Linked DNA regions of Homo sapiens: region 2 is linked to region 1. The links are contacts of gene promoters, found by promoter capture Hi-C in blood cells and fetal thymus (Javierre and others, 2016). All regions are on one chromosome and are shown on one strand. The core of a region is centred on a gene start or on the middle of the fragment in contact, and the rest is flanking DNA. Distances in the headings are between cores, read along the strand shown. Region 1 holds the start of TSTD2 (thiosulfate sulfurtransferase like domain containing 2). Region 2 holds the start of AOPEP (aminopeptidase O (putative)).

Evidence for each region. The method cuts DNA at HindIII sites, captures the fragments that hold promoters and counts their contacts. A CHiCAGO score of 5 or more calls a contact.
Region 2: the fragment with the promoter of AOPEP here is called in contact with the fragment with the promoter of TSTD2 in region 1 in 1 of 17 cell types (naive CD4 T cells); the score reaches 5.7 in naive CD4 T cells.

The regions. Positions count from the first base shown.
Region 1 is chr9:97,632,027-97,635,109 of GRCh38, reverse strand. It overlaps TSTD2 (thiosulfate sulfurtransferase like domain containing 2), which reads left to right and starts at 1,742. Exons shown (of 10, transcript NM_139246.5): 1 at 1,742-1,867. NCBP1 (nuclear cap binding protein subunit 1) reads right to left here and starts at 1,289. Exons shown (of 23, transcript NM_002486.5): 1 at 1,195-1,289. The coding sequence starts at 1,228. RefSeq lists enhancers at 792-871, 429-1,264, 1,429-1,723, 1,492-1,821. The HindIII fragment of the contact is 4,009 bases long and covers 1-2,833 here.
Region 2 is chr9:94,724,966-94,728,067 of GRCh38, reverse strand. AOPEP (aminopeptidase O (putative)) reads right to left here and starts at 1,369. Exons shown (of 17, transcript NM_001193329.3): 1 at 1,317-1,369. RefSeq lists enhancers at 1,098-1,577, 1,100-1,642, 1,588-1,757. The HindIII fragment of the contact is 1,744 bases long and covers 1-1,607 here.

The sequences.
Region 1 (3,083 bases), core at 493-2,992:
TGCCACAACACTCAAGGAGAGACAAACGTTAGTAGATAAAATTTACTCAATTTAAAATGTCTGTTATGGGTTTTTTTCTTACATTGACAGCATCTGCTAACGTTTACCGCCTCTTAAGCGTTGGCAAATGATAAAACATCATTGTTGCTGATGTGTATTACCTCATTTAACCTTCACAAAAACCAGAAGATATAAATATCATTACTTCTGTATTACAGACTAAAGTTTAAGGAGATTTCATAACCTGGACAAGATCACCAAGTAAATGGTAGGGTCTGGCTTTGAACCTAAACCCTCTGGTTCCAAAGTCTCATCTCTTAACCACTACTATACACTCTCTTCAAAAAACAATACACTAAAATGTTAACAATAGAATTACTCTAAGTTTTACTTTTTTGGTGTGTGGATTTGTGTTTTTGACCGATTGTAAGGCTTATGTGTAATATAAGCATCTTTTTTTTGTTGTTGTTAAAACTAGAATTATTCCATCTTTATGAAGGCAACACTGATCTCCACGAGCACAATCATCCAAACGGAGATGGGAACCCCTGTTCTAACTCTCTCAGAGGCCTGAAGTTAGTTTTCTAGCACTCTCTCTCACACAAGGGAAATGCGCTTACGGCCAGTTCAAAATCTGCAGTAACCTGTGTCTGTTTATTAGGGACCTCTTGGGCGCAGGTAAGACAATATTCTTTCCCTGCAGCTTGAAAGAAGTGAAATCAACGGATAACCACTACCGGAACAGAGTTCAGACTGCAACTCATGAGATCTCTCAGTCCTTTCCTTCAGTGAATTCTTCCGAGCCCTTTTCAGGTGCAGCTTTGAAGGTTAAAACGAGACACTAGGACCAGTGGGTCCCTAAGAGGCGGCAGCACAGACACAGGTGTGCTTCCCTGCTCCGTGGTTTTACGGACGAAATTCTGAAGCATCCTTAGAGACCAAGGGTCTACCCATGGGGTTCACCAGGCCTTCTTTCCCGAGGATCGGCCCTTGACTCAAAGAACTGGGGCGGGGGAGAAGTCGCTTTCTAGAAGCCGCCCGACCACACCGCCACCATATTCTCCTCTTTCCCTCCGCGGCTCCCCGCACGTTCCCGGGGAGAAGAGCTTCCAGTCTCTTCCGTGGACACCCAAAGACGCCGAGCCTCGGCTCCCAACCGGGAGCGGCCTCCGTGGCCGGGCCGCAGGCACTCACCGTCGTTCTCGTCGCTGTGCCGCCGCCGCGACATGCTGCCCTCCGGTGCGCCGCGGAACCGAGAGGCCAGGCGGTAAGCGCTGCAGGAACTGTCTGGCCGCTGGCCGACGCAAGGACAGCTGCAAGGCGCGCGGATGGGCCGGCACGCAGGCGCACTAGCTCGCCACGGCCCCGGAAGCGCAGGAGAGGCCGCCGGGTGGGGCTAGGCGCTGCGACAGCCGGCGTGAGGAAGCTCAGTGGGCTACGAACGTCTGGCACACATGCAACCGCCCCCTCGGGCTGCCTCCGCCTGCCGGCTACTTCTTTCTCCCGCCTTCCGCTCTATGTCCTTCCGGGGCCACGCAGAAAGTGCCGCCGCTTTGGCCACTCAGAGCCCCCGGGCCGCGGTCGTCGTACGCCTGAAGGCGGGTCGTGCCGGCGGCCGCTCTAGTCTCCGCCTCCGCTCAGGCCGGTCCTCCGGGGCTTCTCAATGGTTTCCCGGTGGCCTCTCAATGGTTTTCCCGGCGGCCCTTGCGCCGACGCCAGGAGACTTCCGGAGCTTGGTGACGTCACGAGCGAGCTTTTCTACCCAAATACGCGGCGGGGGAATAGGCTCGAGGGCGGTGAGCAGTGACAATTGCTAGGCGGAGACAGTGCAGGGAAGAGAGACCTTAGAAAGGATCAGGACTGGCGGGTATGTGCTCATCTACTCCCACTTTCCGGCTTTTGCCGCCTTGGGAAAAGTGGGAGGAGAGGTTGGGCCAAGCTCGGCATGCGGGGTGGGGCCTGGGCGGGAGGCGGTGCCGCACGTGCCGCCCCTTGGTATGGAAAGGCCGGCCCTGACGCGAGCGTGCGGCTCCGGGCTTGCCGGCTGGCCGTCATTTTCCTTAAGTTGTTTGCTTAGGAAGGAACAAATGATTGTTTTAGTAATCTGTTTTCAAGGGTTATTGGGTACCTATATGCCTGTGTGTGAGCGTCCCCTCCCCTGATGTCTTTATGAGCACCATACTGGCTTATCTGCTTTGTCCATGGCCATCTGAAATTTCACTCTCCCGGCCTAATTCTCCTTCGGTCTTACCCATTTCAGTAAATGACGTCATCCGTCGGCCGCTTAATCCAAAAATTTAGAGTCTTTCTTAGCTCTTTTCCCTCTTTTTACATAACAATTATCTGTAAACCCTGCCTGCTCTGCTTTCAACACAAATCCAGAATCAGATCGTGTTACTGCTTTGTTTAAAAGTCTCCTATGACGGCCGGGCGGGGTAGCTAACGCTTGTAATCCTAACACTTATGGGAGGCCGACGCGGGCGGATCCGCTTGAGCCTAGGAGTTCAAGACCCACCTGGGCAACAAGGCGAACACCGTCTTTACAGGAAAAAAAAAAAAATTAGCTGAGCCTAGTGTTTGGCGCCTGTAGTCCCAGTTACTCGAGGGGAGGGTTGGGGGCCGAGGTGGGAGGATCCCTTGAGCCCAGGAGGTCGAGAATGCAGTGAGCGGTGATCGCACACTGCACTCCAGCCTGGGCAACAAAGTGAGACCGTGTCAAAAAAAAAAAGTCTCCTACGACTTTCCATTGCACACTCCATGCCATGGCCTGTGGGGTTCTACTTCTCCTCACTGTACTCCAACCACTCTTTCTGTTCTTACAATAAGTCAAGCTTGTTCTTATTTTAGGAACTTATACTATTTCCTTTACCTGAAGGTCTCTGGTTCTAAATCTGCGTGGCTGGCTCTTGGTCACTTAGGTCTCAGCTCAAATGTCAGGTCCTTAGTGAGGCCTTCTTTGGTTACCCAATCACTGTTTTATTTCATTCAACGAATATTATATTTATTAGCATTTAGCACCTCCTAGGTGCCAGGCAGAGTTCTGAATGCTGAGGATGTAGAGGTGAACAAAGGAAAACCCCTGC
Region 2 (3,102 bases), core at 120-2,619, 2.9 Mb after region 1:
TAGTAGAGTCCTTTAAGAAAAGTGCAGGCTTTGAAGTTATATTCAGACCTGAATTTAAATCTTGATTTTGCCATTTAGTTAACTGTGAATTTTTAGCAAGTCAATTTCATATAACCGAAACTCAATTTCCTTCTCTATAAATTGGGGGTAATAATTCCTAACTCACGAGGTGGTTGTATGAAGTAAGGAGAAAACATATGCAAAGTGTTGAACACAGTACCTGGGATAAAGCAGATGGGCCAACAGTAAGCAACTATTATTATACCCTAACCTTATTCTACTTTGTCCCCCAAATATTGGAAGAATCTAATCTTCCCAATTAGCAAGTCATTGGAAGGCTTCCCAGACTTATACGAAGCACAATATACACTATTCAAAAATGGAACAGACTAAAAGTATTTTAAAAATACAAAACCAAACAATCAATGAGATCAAGGATTTCAGAATTCTGCTTCTCGTCCCATATACTCAGCATCTATTCTGTCTGGTTTTGTAATAACCCATATTATTTCTTTATCAACCATATGAACCTTATTGTTGTTTTTTTGCGATCTAAACATCCCTAGCGGGTTATGTTACTTATTTTGAGGGCTACCTTTGCAAGGGTAATTGTCATCATTGCACGAAAACCAAAAAGAAATCAGGTACAAGGGGCATTTTATGCAATGCTATTAACTGTTCCATGCATCTCAACAGTGGATTGGATCCTAAGTGGATATTTTATTATCACAATAGATAATCATAATCACATTACTGTGCCACCCCCTCCCCGCCCATGCATGCGTTCATGAACAAAACTCCAGACTAACAGTATGAATGTTCTATAGGGACCCCAAAACTCAAAATGTGGTGCTCTCAGTAAAGATCCTCCGGGGGAAGAAGAGGCGGATGGGTTTCACTGCAAGTGGAAATGAATCGAATCGAAACTGTTCTGCCTACTTAAGACTGGAGATGAGCCCTGTGGGGCTAGAAGCCGAGACCGGCAGGTGACCGAGGGCCTGGAGGCAAGAGACGAAGGAGGAGGCACCCAGAGGCTGAGAAAGGTCTGTGCCGCCGGGGAGAAGACAGCCAGAGCCCGTGGCCACCTCTACAGCTGAGGTGGTAAGATGTGACCGCTCCGCCCAGTCCCCAGGATGGGTTTCAGCCCCAGGAGTCTGGGAGAACTGAGGAGGGGATGCGGGTCCTCGCTGGTCGAGCAAAAGTGAGGGTAAGGGAGGGTTCCCCGTCGCCTTCAGAACGGAATGATGCTGTCCCCGCCGCCATCCCGACGCCGGAGGAGAGGAAGGCAGGGACCCAACAGGGAGCGAACAGGTTACCTGTCTCAGCCGCGTCCCACGGGTCACCACTTCCGCAGACTCGGGGTTACTACGGGCTACCCCGGCACGCGCCGGGTGACGTCATCCACACGCGCCCGGGGCCGCATTCTGCCTGACCCGCCTTCCGCTAGGCCCGCCCCCTTAGGATGAGAGGGCGAGACCGCCCGGGGGAGATCTGCGCAGGCGCGGAGCTGCCGCGGTCATAGGAGGGCGCGAGCAGCTTGGCTGGCTAGGGCTTGTAGAGTTGCCCTGGTACCCTAGTATTCCTAATTGCAAAATCTTTATGAAGCTTAAGAAAAAAATCACCAGCCTGGGCAACCTGGGGAGGCCCCGTCTCTACAAAAAAATTAAAAAATTAGCCGAGTGTGGTGGCGTGCACCTGTGGTCCAGCTACTATGGAGGCTGAGGCAGGAGGATTGCTTAGGTCCAGGAGTTCGAGGCTGCAATGAGCTATGAACGTGCCACTACACTCCACCCTGAGCCACAGAGCAAGACCCTGTTTCAAATAAAATTTAAAAAAAGTTACTGAAATACAGATGTGCAATTTTATTCCTTAGCCTAGTCTCACCTCTGCTGCATGTGACTATTGTTCACATATTAATTCCACCACAATTTAAGGTCCTCCTGTGTGCCAGGCAAGCACCCTTAACAAAAGCTGGGGAAACAACCAGGAACAAGACAGACGCTGTGCCTTCCCTCATGGGGATTACTTTCTAGTTGAGAAAGCAAACATTAAATGTAGAAGGAAAGGCCGGGCGCGGTGGCTCACGCTTGTAATCCCAGCACTTTGGGAGGCCGAGGCAGGCGGATCACAAAGTCAGGAGATCGAGACCATCCTGGCTAACACGGTGAAACCCCGTCTCTACTAAAAATACAAAAAATTAGCCGGGCGAGGTGGTGGGCGCCTGTAGTCCCAGCTACTCGGGAGGCTGAGGCAGGAGAATGGCGGGAACCCCGGGGGGCGGAGCCTGCAGTGAGCCGAGATCGCGCCACTGCACTCCAACCTGGGCGACAGCGAGACTCCATCTCAAAAAAAAAAAAAAAAGTAGAAGGAAAATAAGTTGCTGAGAAATTAAAGGAAGACAGGTGACCTTTTGATTTGAGATGTCAAGAAAGTGCCCTCTGAAGAGGTTCAGTAAACTGAGAAGCAGCCAACTCTGTGGAGAGCTAAGGAAAGAACAGCCAAGAGAAGAATCTACATGTGAGCAAGCAATAGGGAAGGGGCAGAATGTGGTGCCTTGGAGAAAGTGAGAAAGTAGGTCATGGGAAGAACAGAGGATGAGATCAAGAAGGCAAGGAGAGTCCCCATCATGCACAGACTCTCTGGGTTCCTGTGAGGAATACGAGTTTATTCGAAGTGTAAGGGGAAACTAGTGAAGAGTTATCAACACGTAAGTGACAGGATCTAGTTTTATAACATCACCCTGCTAGCTGCTGTGTATACATGAAACTTTTGAGAAACAATTTAAAAGGATGCAAAGAGAAGAGTTGCTTTTGCAATGAGCAGGTAAGAAATGATAGAAATGGACAAATTTCAGGAATAATTCTGAGGTAGATGTGACAGACTTGGAGATGAGTTTAGATAAGGGAGATAAGGAAAAGAAAAGTGTCAAAAATAATTCTTAAATTTGGGGCCTAAGCAAATAGCTGGATCATATAGCTAAAACAAGGTTTGTTTCACCTCCTTTCAAACTTGATTTCTTTGCTTGTTTCCAAGTCAGTCCTCTAGGTTCTCCTGTCACCTATCTTTCCTCAGTTTCTATCACTGGCTTCCACTTTCCCTTTT